2 separate regions of the Homo sapiens genome follow, and region 2 is linked to region 1. Evidence: promoter capture Hi-C in human tissues and cell types (Jung and others, 2019). All regions are on one chromosome and are shown on one strand. Each heading gives the region's core, a stretch centred on a gene start or on the middle of the fragment in contact. The rest is flanking DNA. Distances are from core to core; before and after follow the strand shown. Region 1 holds the start of ZBTB17 (zinc finger and BTB domain containing 17). Region 2 has its middle 5.5 kb from the start of DDI2.

Evidence for each region. Contacts are between HindIII fragments. The study calls those that stand out against the background at their distance.
Region 2: a contact is called between a fragment that was not itself captured here and the fragment with the promoter of ZBTB17 in region 1, in 1 of the 25 tissues and cell types used here (adrenal gland).

The regions. Positions count from the first base shown.
Region 1 is chr1:15,973,060-15,979,785 of GRCh38, forward strand. It overlaps ZBTB17 (zinc finger and BTB domain containing 17), which reads right to left and starts at 3,042. Exons shown (of 16, transcript NM_003443.3): 1 at 2,924-3,042; 2 at 1-66. RefSeq lists enhancers at 1,906-2,015, 2,907-3,406 and silencers at 2,436-2,765, 2,806-2,905. The HindIII fragment of the contact is 12,952 bases long and covers 1-6,726 here.
Region 2 is chr1:15,608,636-15,615,361 of GRCh38, forward strand. It overlaps the pseudogene CD24P1. Among named protein-coding and RNA genes, the nearest start is that of DDI2, 5.5 kb to the right of the region's middle. The HindIII fragment of the contact is 5,795 bases long and covers 1-5,499 here.

The sequences.
Region 1 (6,726 bases), core at 1,792-4,291:
GGCTACTCTTTTCTGACAGTTTGCCTGTGTAAACTCCAGCTTGGCTCCCCTCGTCCGGCTCATTACCTGAATCAATGACACACAAGTGGAAAATCTGATGAGAACCTAAAGGGTACCTGCTCCCTCAGAGCTGCCTTTTCATGCATCCATCAAACATAGACAAATACAGAGTGCTTAGCACAGAGCCTGGCCCAAGGAAGTGCTGAATAAATGGCCTGCTCTGTGCCAGATAGCATGCTGACACTGGGACACAAAGATGCACAGACTCAGCCTCAGGCCCTGCTCTCAAGAACTCCAGCTCAATAAGAGACAGGACACAATGTTAAGAAGGAAAAACGACAAGGTTTGTATCCAAGCATTACTGCAGCATTGGCACTGCTCTGGGATATCCTGGACACTTTGTTTCTCATTGCATACCCTACCCTAGGTGAGCTCATCCCCTCCCATGACTTCAGTGACCTTTGATGGTGATAACTACTAGCTGAACAGGTGCACTTGAATGTTTTACAGGCATCCAACTCCAACATGTTCAAAACTAAACATATCTGCCCTCCCCCAGATCTGCTCCCCGTACTGCTCCCTATCACATGGAGCAGCATCCAACACCCATCAGTCAAAAACTGGGGTGATCCTGACTCCTCCCTGCCCCTAACTCTCATCAAACTAATCACCAAATTGTGTCAATTCTATCGCTAAAACCATCTCTCCTCACTCTCTGCCTTTAACTCACACCTTTATTTCTCACTTGGATTATTCTAGCAGGCTCTTAATTGGCCTACAGGCCCACTCCCTTTGATACATTCTTCACTTAGCCAGAGTGATCTTCCTAATCCACAAATCTGATTCGTGGCCAGGCATGGTTGCACATGCCTATAATCCCAGTACTTTGGGAGGCTGAGGCGGGAGGATCATTTGAGGCCAAGAGTTCGAGACCAGTCTGGGCAACATAGTGAGACCCCATCTCTACTAAAAATTTAAAAAATTAGCCAGGTGTTATGGTGCACGCCTGTAGTCCCAGCTAGTTGGGAGGCTGAGGCAGAAGGATCACTTGAGTTCAGATCAAGGCTGCAGTGAACTATGATTATGCTGCCACTGCACTCCAGCCTGGGTGACAGAGCAAGACGTAGTCTCAAAAAAAAAAAACAAAAACAAAAACAAAAAAAACCTGATTCTTTTATTTCAGGCTGGAAATAAAAGAATCCTCCCACCTCAGCCTTCCAAGAAGCTGGGACCACCAGAGGTGTACTCCACCATGCCCGGCTATTTTTTTTTTCCTTTTTTTTTTTTTTTCTTTTAATAAAGATGGGGTCTTGCCATGTTGCCCAGGCTTGTCTCAAACTCCTGGGCTCAAATGATCATCCCACGTTGGCCTCCCAAAGTGCTAGAATTACAGAGTAAGCCACCGCACCTGGCCACAGATCTGATTCTTAAATGGCTTCCCATTAACCTAAAGTTTAAAGTCCTTAACTAGGTTTACAACGTCCCCTAAGACCAGACCACAGCTTGCTGCTGCTTTTTTTTTTTTTCTTTTTTGAGACGGAATCTCGCTCTGTCGCCCAGGCTGGAGTGCAGTGGCGCCGTTTCGGCTCACTGCAACCTCCGCCTCCTGCGTTCGAGCGATTCTCATACCTCAGCCTCCTGAGCAGCTGGGACTACAGGCGCGCGCAAGCACGACCGGCTAATTTTTGTATTTTTAGTAGAGACGGGGGTTTCACCATATTGGCCAGGCTGGTCTCGAACTCCTGACCTCAAGTGATCTGCCCGCCTGGGCCTCCCAAAGTGCTGAGATTACAAGCGTGAGACAACGAGCCCGGCCCAGTCTGCTTCTTTATTTAGCCTGATCTCTCTCTCCTCTCTCTACGAAGATGAGTTTTCTCACAAACTACACCCTTAACTGGGAATACCCGTTTTCCTGCCTCACTCCGCTGAGCTTCCCTTAGATCTTAGCTTTCTGGGGGACAGAAGCCTCCCGGGATTCCCCCTAGGCTGAGTGATGTGTCTCTACTCCGTGCTTCAGAGGAAGGAGGGCTTTCTGCCCTCGCAGCAGTATCAGAATTGCTGATTTACCTGTATGTCTCCCACATGGGTCTCTGAGCTCTGGGTGACAATGGTGATACAATTAATAACAGCAACAAACACACAGCATTTACTTTGTACCCATAAGTGTTCTAGGAGCCTCATTTCCCCTTTATTACAATCTTAGGAGGCTGATTTTATTATCATCTCTGCTTAAAGGATGAATAAACCCAGGCAGAGAGAAAAAGCCAAAAGTGCCTAAGGTCACAGCAGGGAATGGGGATTCAAACCCCGCTGCTGGGCTCCACGGTTCACACTCCTAACTCCAGGATCGAGGATCCTGGAGGATCGAGTCCGCCCGCATCACTCGCTCTAGCTTCACCATCTATCAGGTGCTGAACCACCGTCCGCAGTACGAATGAATGAATGAAATGCTTTTATACAGGGACAGCGTCGGCCTCCTCTGTCAGCTCCTCCTAGGCCCGGGCAGCCCCGCTCCCTCCCGCCCCGGCCGGCCGACAGGAGCTGCCCCGGCACTGCGCTCCCTCGCGGCCGCAGAACGCCCACCCTCGACAGCGCGCGGGGTCAAGGGGCGGTGACAGCCGTGCGGCGGGGGCGGAGATGCTACCAGCTGGGGTGTCATCCAGCCCGGGAGGTGACACGCGCCCCCTCGCCCGGGCGGTCGCCTGGCCGCCCACTCCCCGCCAGCACGCCCGGCGACGCCCCCCGCCCCGCCACCCCACAATCTCCCGCCCAGCGGTGTCCCCTCAGCCCCGGTTGGCGTCCCATTCCACTTCCCTCCCCTCCCCCACACAACCGTCACCGGCGTCCCACCGCGCCCCATCCTCCGCCGCCTCCGCCCCGGCTCCCGGGACTTCCCCGGCCCCGGGCGATTGTTGACACTCACCTGCCATGTCCCGGACCCCACCGCAGAGGGAGGTGCATCACGGCCGCGAGAAGGCCGGGGACGGCACTCCAGAGCAGACAAAGGGCGCCGCCATGTTAGAGTCGGGCGGAACCGACCTCGCAGGCTTCCCGGCTGCAACTTCCGGCGCATGCGCAGCGTCCTCGCTAGGAGAGCGCCCATAGACAGACGCATGCGCCTAGCTATCCAAAAGTTCCACCTTACAGTACTTCGGCGCTCAGAGTTGTCCTCATTGTACCCCTGCCTTGGTTTCTCTTCCAAATATAACAGTAACATCATGTGTTCAGCTCTTACTGTGTGCCAGGCACTGTGTTAAGCGCTTTACATGCATTATCTCTTTAAATCCTCACACCAATTATAAGATAGTATTATTCTCCTAATTTTAAAAAAGGGAAAACAGACTCAAAAAGTGTAAATCAATGTCCATGGTCACATATCTTGTAAGTGGTGGACCGGAGATATGAATCTACTTGTGGCTTCAAAGCTGCAGATCCCAGTTGTGTTTTTCTACCTTCTAAACCGAACATTATCCCCTTCCCTGATTGTCTTGGACGTGAATAAAGGTGTCTGAAAACAAAAGTGTCTGCAGACTTGCATGGCCCCTCCGTGGCCCCTCTTCTACCTTTTTGGTAGCTCTAGGCCACTGACTTCTCCACTTTCTCACAGTCTGAGGGCTTTCTCCTTTGTTTACTTCTAGGCCTGCATATTTTCCATAATCTATAATTTTAACAACACTCTTGCCACTACTGTAAGCTCTTTTGCCCCCTTGCCTTTTTGTCACATGGATTTGGTAAGAATACCAACGCTGTGTGAATCCAAATGCACCTTTTCTCTTTGTTAGCTCCCAAACAGCCAAGCACAGCTGAAGAAAGTATGCAGTGGGGAGACTGTTCCCTAGAGATTCATGTCCACTAGCCTTCAGTGGGATGCAACATATGCCAATCTGGCAACTCACTCCTGTCTTCACAATGGCTAGAGAAACAAAAAAGCCCAGCAGTTGACTTCACCCCTTCTTGTCTTTAGGTTTTTTTTTTTTTTTTGGAGACAGAGTCTCACTCTGTCTTCCAGGCTGGAGTGCAGTGGCGCTGTCTCGGTTCACTGCAAGCTCCGCCTCCCGGGTTCACGCCATTCTCCTGTCTCAGCCTCCAGAGTAGCTGGGACTACAGGCGCCCGCCACAACACCTGGCTAATTTTTTGTATTTTTAGTAGAGACGGGGTTTCACCATGTTAGCCAGGATGGTCTCGATCTTCTGACCTCGTGATCCACCTGCCTCAGCCTCCCAAAGTGCTGGGATTACAGGCGTGAGCCGCCGTGCCCGGCCGTCTTTCTTTTCTTTCTTTTTTTTTTTTTTAGATGGGGTCTCGCTATGTTGCCCGGCTGGACTGAAACCCCTAGGCTTAAGCATCCCATTTCAACCTCCCCAGTAGCTGAGACTACAGGCATGTGCACCCACAACTGGCTAACTTCACCCGTTCTTTTTAACTATATTTTTAATTTTTATTTCAGTAGTTTTTGGGGAACACATGGTGTTTGGTTACATGGATAAGTTCTTTAGTGATGATTTCTGTGATTTTGGGGGACCCATGACCTGAACAGTGTACATTCTACCCAAGGTGTAGTCTTTTTTTTTTTTTTTTTTTTTTTTTGAGATGGAGTCTTGCTCTGTTGCCCAGGCTGGAGTGCAGTGGCGCCATCTGGGCTCACTGCAAGTTCCGCCTCCCAGGTTCACGCCATTCTCCTGACTCAGCCTCCCGAGTAGCTGGGACTACAGGCGCCCGCCACCATGCCCGGCTAATTTTTTGTATTTTTAGTAGAGACGGGGTTTCACCGTGTTAGCCAGGATGGTCTGGATGTCCTGACCTCGTGATCCGCCCGCCTCGGCCTCCCAAAGTGCTGGGATTGCAGGCGTGAGCCACTGCGCCCAGCCAACCCAAAGTGTAGTCTTTTATCCCTCACCCCTCCCACCTTTCCCCCTGAGTTCCCAAAGTCCATTGTGTCATTCTTATGCCTTTGCGTCCTCATAGCTTAGCTCCCACCTAAAAGTGAGAGCATATGATATTTGGTTTTCCATTCCTGAGTTACTTCATTTAGAATAATGGTCTCTAGCTCCATCCATGTTGCTGCAAATGCCATTATTTCATTCCTTTTTATGGCTGAGTAGTATTCCATGTTATATATATATACCACATTTTCTTTATCCACTCGTGCATTGATGGGCATTTGAGATGGTTCTATATGTTTGCAATTGTGAACTGTGCTGCTACAAACATGCGTGTGGAAGTGTATTTTTCATATAATGACTTATTTTCCTCTCTGTAGATACCCGCTAGTGGGATTGCTGGATCTAATGGCAGATTTACTTTTAGTTCTTTAAGGAACATCCATATTGTTTTCCATAGTGGTTGTGCTAGTTTACATTCCCACCAGCAGTGCAAAAGTGTTCCCTTTTCACCACAACCATGTCAACATCTATCATTTTTTCATTTTTGATTGTGGCCATTCATGCAGGAGTAGGTATGGCATTATGGTTTTGATTTGCATTTGCCTGATGATTAGTGATATTGAGCATTTTTTCACGTTTGTTGGCCATTTGTGTATCTTCTTTTAAGAACTGTCGGGCCGGGCGCGGTGGCTCACGCCTGTAATCCCAGCACTTTGGGAGGCCGAAGTGGGCAGATAGCCTGAGGTCAGGAGTTCGAGACCAGCCTGGTCAACATGGCGAAACCTCGTCTCTACTAAAAAATCAAAAAAATAAAAATAAAAAAAATAGCCAGCATCGTGGTGGGCACCTGTAGTACCAAGCTACTCAAGAGGCTGAGGCAGGGAGAATTGCTTGATCCTGAGGCTGCAGTGAGCTAAGATTGTGCCACTGCACTCCAGCCTGGGCGACAGTGTGAGACTCTGTCTCAAAAAAAAAAAAATAAGAATTGTCTGTTCATGTCCTTAGCATGTGACTTTTTAATAGGATTATTTGCTTTTTTCTTGCTGATTTGTTTGAGTTCCTTGTAGATTCTGGGTATTAGTTCTTTGTTGGATGCATAGTTTGTGAAAATTTTCTCCCACTCTGTGGGTTGTCTGTTTACTCTGCTGATTATTTATTTTGCTGTGCAGAAACTTTTTAGTTTAATTAGGTCCCATTTATTTATATTCATTTTTGTTGCATTTGCTTTTGGGTTCTTAGTCATAAAGTCTTCGCCTAAGCCAATGTCCAGAAGAGTTTTTCCAATGTTGTCTTCTAGAATTTTTGTGGTTTCAGGTCTTAGATTTCAGTCTTTGATCTATCTTGAGTTGATATTTGTATAAGGTGAGAGATGAGGATACAGTTTCATTCTTCTACGTGTGGCTTGCCAATTATCCCAGTACCATTTACTGAATAGGGTGCCCCTCCCCCCTTTATATTTTTGTTTGCTTTGTTGAAGATCCATTGGATATAAGTATTTGGCTTTATTTCTGGGTTCTCTATTCTGTTCGTTTGGTCTATGTACCTATTTTATTCCAGTACCGTGCTGTTTTGGGGACTATAGCCTTGTAGTATAGTTTGAAGTTGGGTAATGTGATGCTCCCAGATTTGTTCTTTTTGCTTAGTTTTGCTTTGGATATGCAGGCCCCTTTTTGGTTCCATACTTCCCCATTTCTTAAAAAAATTTTTTTTAAATCATAGTAAGAAAACTTAATATGAGAGCTGTCCTCTTAAGAATTTGTTCTTTCTCTTCAACTTTTATTTTAAGTTCAAAGGTACATGTGCAGGAGGTGCAGGTTTGTTACATAGGTGGTAATATATGAC
Region 2 (6,726 bases), core at 1,352-3,851, 360 kb before region 1:
CAAAGTGCTGATATTACAGGCGTGAGCCACTGCACCTGGCCCCCCCACCTTTTTTTTTTTTTTTTTTAAGAAATGGGGTCCCATAATGTTAACCAGGCTGGTTCCAACTCCTGGGCTCAAGTGATCCTCCCACCTCAGTCTCACAGTGCTGGGATTATAGGCATGTGCCACTGTGCCTATCCTGTATGTCTAACTTTTTGAGGAACTGTCAAACTTTTTTCCAAAGTGGCTGCACCATTTTACATTCCCGCCAGCAGTCTATTAGGGGTTCCTATTTCTCCACATCCTCATCACCACTTGTTATCATCTGCCTTTTTTTTTTTTTTTTTTTTTTGAGTATCTTTTTGGACAGAGTCTCCCTCTGTCCCCCAGGCTGGAGTGCAGTGGCACATTCTCGGCACGCTGCAACCTCCACCTCCAGGGTTCAAGCAATTATCCTGCCTCAGCCTCCAGAATAGCTGGAGTTATAGGCGCATGTCACTATAGCCGGCTAATTTTTATTTTTTTATTTTCATTTTTTTGAGATGGAGTCTCACTCTGTCACCCAGGCTGGAGTGCAATGGCACGATCTCGGCTCACTGCAACATCCACCTCTTGGGTTCAAGCAATTCTCCTGCCTCAGCCTCCCAAGTAGCTGGGATTACAGGCACACACCATCATGCCCAGCTAATTTTTATATTTTTAGTAGAGACGGGGTTTCACCATGTTAGTCAGGCTGGTCTCGAACTCCTGACCTCGGGATTCGCCCTCCTCTGCTTCCCAAAGTGCTGGGATTACAGACATGAGCCACCGCATCCGGCCTAATTTTTATATTTTTAGTAGAGATGGGGTTTCACCGTGTTGGCCAGACTGCTCTCGAACTCCTGGCTTCAAGTGATTTGCCTGCCTTGGCCTCCCAAAGTGCTGGGATTACAGGTATGAGCCACCACGCCCAACTCTGTCTTTTTTATTATAGCCATCCTAGTGAGCATAAAGTGGTATCTCATTTTGGTTTTACTTTGTATTTTTATTTTATTATGCTTATAGTTTCTGTAGGTCAGAAATTCAAAGGCAATACAGTGGAGACGGCTCCATAATGTCTGAAGCCTCATCTGGAAAGACTCATAAGTTGGAGATGATTCAACATCTGGGGGTTGAAGTCATCTGAAAGTGTCTTCACTTCTGTGCTTGGTGAGTTTTCCCGCTAATCAGCTTTCCCCTCAGCTGAGCAGCTTTCTGGAACAACCACACGTATTTTCTCCATGCGGTCTCACCGTGTGGTGTAGTTTGGGCTTCCTCACAGCATGGCTGCTGGGTTCCAAGAGCAAGCGTTCCAAGAGAATCACGGAGAAGCTGTACTGACTTTTTTTCAGCCATTGATTTATTTTTATTTGCAGTTTGTATTCAATACAAATCAATTTCATAACAAGTTACTATGAATCAAAGCATACACACACAAATATACAATCCAAAATAGATGTACAGCATTTCGGCATGGAGCAAAAGGGAGTGTTCATTCACACACACAGTGGAGTGGGTTCAGATCTGTTCCATCTGCTGTTCCCGTGTAGGTTTCTAAAGATGGAAAAAAAAAGACTACTGTGGCCATATTAGATGCTGGAACACATAAGCATCAGTGTGTGACCTTGTGAACAAAGGACTTCAGGGAGTGTCTATTTTTAAAAAGGTTTCTGTGTGTCAAGACAGTTGTAAACATTTTTATTACAGAATCAAGCTTACTTTGCGGTTTAGGACCAGGTTCTAACTATCTAAAAATATTGACATAACAAAATGTGTTTCAAACAGGGCATGATGGCTCATGTCTGTAATCCCAGCACGTTAGGAGATGAGGTAAGAGGATTGCTTGAGCCTAGGAGTTCAAGAACAGCTTGGGAACATAGAAAGACTCCTATTTCTACAAAAAGATAAAAATTCGCTGGGAATGGTGGCACACGCATGTAGTGCTAGCTACTTGGGAGGCTGAGGCAGGAGGATTGCTTTAGTCCACGAGGTTGAGGCCGCAGTGAACTCTAGCCTGGGTAACAGGGTGAGACCATGTCTCTTAAAAAAAAAGGCCCCAGCTGGGTGCGGTGGCTCACGCCTGTAATCCCAGCACTTTGGGAGGCTGAGGTGGGCAGATCACGAGGTCAGGAGTTCAAGACCATCCTGGCCAACATGGTGAAATGCCGTCTCTACAAAAAATACAAAAATTAGCGAGGTGTGGTGTTGTGCACCTGTAATCCTAGCTACTCGGGAGGCTGAGGCAGGAGAATCACTTGAACCTGGGAGGCGGAGGTTGCAGTGAGCCAAGATCGCTCCATTGCACTCCAGCCTGGGCGACAGAGTAAGACTCTGTCTCAAAAAAAAAAAAGCCCCAAAATGTGTTTTAAATGCAGCTATTCTGATCCATAGTTGTTGTTTGCAAAAAGCATTTACAGAAAAAGAGTATAGCCTGGGCACGGTGGCTCAGGCCTGTAATCCCAGCACTTTGGGAGGCTGAGGCGGGCAGATCACCTGAGGTCAGGAGTTTAAGACCAGCCTGACCAACATGGAGAAACTCCATCTCTACTAAAAATACAAAATTAGCCGAGCGTGGTGGTGCGTGCCTGTAATCCCAGCTACTCAGGAGGCTGAGGCAGGAGAATCGCTTGAACCTGGGAGGCGGAGGTTGCGGTGAGCCAAGATCATGCCATTGCACTCCAGCCTGGGCAACAAGAGTGAAACTCCATCTCAAAAAAAAAAAAAAGAAAGAAAGAAAAAGAAAAGAGTATAAAAGTTTTTGTGACTTTAATGCAAGTTAACTTTCAGTCTTTACTTTCCAAATACTTGATATACAGTTTTTGGCTCCTTTACATTTTTGCCCTTTTAATTTCAAGGTTTATAATTTTACCTTCAAAACAGATCTTTTTTTGTTTTTTGAGATGGAGTCTCACTGTGTCTCCCAGGCTGGACAGCAGTAGCATGATCTTGGCTCACTGCAACCTCTGGCTCTAAGGTTCAAGCAATTCTCCTATCTCAGCCTCTGAGTAGCTGGGATTACAGGCACACCACCATGCCCAGCTAATTTTTGTATTTTTAGTAGAGACAGGGTTTAATCTTGTTGGTCAGGCTGGTCTCGAACTCCTGACCTCAAGTGATCCACCTGCCTCAGCCTCCCAAAGTGCTGGGATTACAGGGGTGAGCCACCGCACCCAGCCCCTTAATGAATCTGGTGTCCTTGTTGAACGAAAATAGGTGAAATGAAATGCCTACCATTTGACTCTCTAAGGATAAACAAGAGTTATTGATGATGCTTGGACTTGGGGGTAGATTGCAGTCTATCATTGCCCTGGCACATGTCAATTACTAAATAAAAGGTCAAATGCAATGTCAAATCCAAATCCTCAGAGGAAAAAGAATTCAGTTACCAAAAGAACAGTGATAGCCTAACAATGTAAAACTTAATATATTGGCATTAAATTAGTACTGCTGAAATAATACATTGAGGATTTATAGAATGATGGAAGCTTTTTTTTTTTTTTTTGAGACGGAGTCTCACTCTGTCTTCCAGGCTGGAGTGCAGTGGTGCGGTCTCAGCTCACTGCAGCCTCCACCCTCCGAGTTCACACGATTCTCCTGCCTCAGCCTCCCGAGTAGCTGTAATTACAGACACTTGCCACCGTGCCCAGCTAATTTTTTGTATTTTTAGTAGAGATGGGGTTTCACCATCTTGGCCAGGCTGGTCTTGAACTCCTGACCTTGTGATCCACCCGCCTTGGTCTCCCAAAGTGCTGGGATTACAGGTGTGAGCCACTGCACCCAGCCGATGGAAGCTTTTTTAAACTTTAAGACAGGATCTTGCTCTGTCACCCAGGCTGGAGTGCCATGATAATGGCTTACTGCAGCCTTGACCTCCAGGGCTGAAGTGATCATCCTACCTCAGTCTCTTGGGTAGCTGTGACCACAAGTGTGTGACACCATGCCCACCTCTTTTTTTAAATTTGTGGGCCAGACACGGTGGCTCACACCTGTAATCCCAGCACTTTGGGAGGACGAGAGAGCTGGATCGCCTGAGGTCAGGAGTTTGAGACCAGCCTGGCCAACATGGTGAAACCCCATCTCTACTAAAAATACAAATATTAGCTGGGCATGGTGGCATGCTCCTGTAGTCCCAGCTACTCAGGAGGCTAAAGAAGGAGAATGGCTTGAACCCGGGAGGTGGAGATTGCAGTGAGCTGGGATCGTGCCATGGCACTCCAGCCTGGGGGACAAGAGTGAAACGCTGCCTCAAAAAAAAAAAAGGAGATTATGGCCAGGTGCAGTGGCTCATGCCCGTAATCCCAGCACTTTGGGGGGCCCAGTGGGTAGATCACCTGAGGTCAGGAGTTTGCGACCCGCCTGGCCTACATGGTGAAACCCTGTCTCCACTAAAAATACAAAAATTAGCCAGGTATGGTGGTGGGTGCCTGTAATCCCAGCTACTCAGGAGGCTGAGGCACAAGAATCACTTGAACCTGCGAGGCAGAGGTTGCAGTGAGCTGAGATCGCACCACTGCACTCCAGCCTGGATGGCAGAGCGAGACTGTGTCTCAGAAAGGAAAAACAAAAAATAAAAATTAGCGGGGCATGGTGGTGCAGGCCTGTAATCCCAGCAACTTGGGAGGCTCAGGCAGGAGAATCACGAGCCAGGGAAGTGGAGGTTGCAGTGAGCTGAGCTCGCACCACTGCACTCCAGCCTGGGCAACAGAACAAGACTCCATCTCAATAAATAAATAAATTAATTAAATTAAAATAAATTTTTTTTTGTAGAGATGGGGTCTCACCCTGTTGCCCAGGGTGATTTCAAACTCCTGGGCTCAATCGATCCTCCTGCTGTGGCCTCCCAAAGTGCTAGGATTACAGGTATGAGCCACCCCCACCCCTGCCAATGGAAATCTTTTATTTTACTGGTTTTACTGCCGTATAGACTTAATGAACCAAATGAAAACTGAATCTCCACTCCATATTACATCTTTATTTCTAAACAAGATAAAATCTATTATTTATTATTATTTTTTTTTTATTACCCAAGTTTTGTCTCAGGATCTACTATTCTTATTTTCAAGGTAGTTTTAACTGTCCACATTTCTTAAGCCACATTCAAGAAATAATGTCTTCAATTTTGGATGTTGCCTCTCTTCATCTTGTACATGACATTTAAGCAGATTTAATATTGGCATCCATCATCTAGTCAAACCCTTCACGTGTTCTTCAAAGCAATTAAATTTGGGGTTCTCAACCTTTTCTTTCTTTCTTTCCTTTTTTTTTTTTTTTGAGATGGAGTCTCACTCTGTCGCCCAGGCTGGAGTGCAATGGCGCGATCTCGGCTCACTGCACCCTCTGCCTCCCATGTTCAAGCCATTCTCCTGCCTCAGCCTCCTGAGTAGCTGGGATTACAGGCACACACCACCACGTCTGGCTAATTTTTATATTTTTAGTAGAGACGGGGTTTCACCATGTTGGTCAGGCTGGTCTTGAACTCCTGACCTTGTGATCCACCTGCCACCTGCCTCGGCCTCCCAAAGTGCTGGGATTACAGATGTGAGCTACCGCGCCTGGCCTTTTTTTTTTTTTTTTTTTTTTTTGAGACAGAGTTTTGCTCTTGTTGCCCAGGCTGGAGTGCAATGGCGCAATCTCGGCTCACTGCAACCTCTGCCTCCCAGGTTCAACCAATTCTCCTGCCTCAGCCTCCCAAGTAGCTGGGATTACAGGCATCCACCACCATATCTGGGTAATTTTTCTGTACTTTTAGTAGAGACGGGGTTTCACCATGTTGGCCAGGCTGGTCTCAAACTCCTGACCTCAGGTGATCCACCTGCCTCGACCTCTCAATGTGTTGGGATTACAGGCATGAGCCACCACACCTGGCCAGGTTCTCAACCTTTTCTGTATCAGTAAAAGAAGGTGTGAAATTAATAGATTTGATGAAGACCCGCTTTTTTTCTTGCCACATTGGACTCCTAGATGCCATTTGGAATGGGTTTAGAAGACACGGAAGTATAGATGTTTCTTAACAGTAGAAATATAGAAGAGAAAGCAAGACCATGAGGAGACTGGCAGTTGACTGCAGGGCACAGCCAACTGCCTTGGTGGTGGCATTAGCTGGGTTTGGGGCAGACAAGGTACCCTGGGAGGAGTTACTTGAAAACGTTACAATAGTTTGATTTGAATAAATCTGCATAAGTAGGAGCAGTGCCAGAAGCAGCAGCCCCAGCCTGAGCCTGTCCACCATTGCTTTGTCCCCTCCATTGGTGTCTGGCATATATTGCTGGATGCTGGGTGAGAACTGCTGGCTCCAGGTGGACACAGGCGAGACCTAGCCTTAAAAATCACACAAAGTGGCTGGGTGCGATGGCTCACATCTGTAATCCCAGTACTTCGTGAGGCCAAGGTGGGAGGATCACTTGAGGCCAGGATTTGGAGATTAGCCTGGTCAACATAGCAAGGACTCATCCCTATTTTTTTTAACTAAAAATAATGTAAAATCATAATAAAAAGGAAATCAAGCCTGGGCAACATAGCAAGATCTCATCTCTACTAAAAAGAAATTAGCTGCGTGTGGTGGTGCACACCTGTAGTTCCAGCTGCTGGGGAGGTTGAGCTGGAGGGATCACTTGAGCCCTGGAGGTTGAGGCTGCAGTGAGCCATGATCGTGCCACTGCACTCCAGCCTGGGTGACAGAGCCAGACCCTGTCTTGATAAAAAAAAAAAAAAAAAAGGAAATCACAT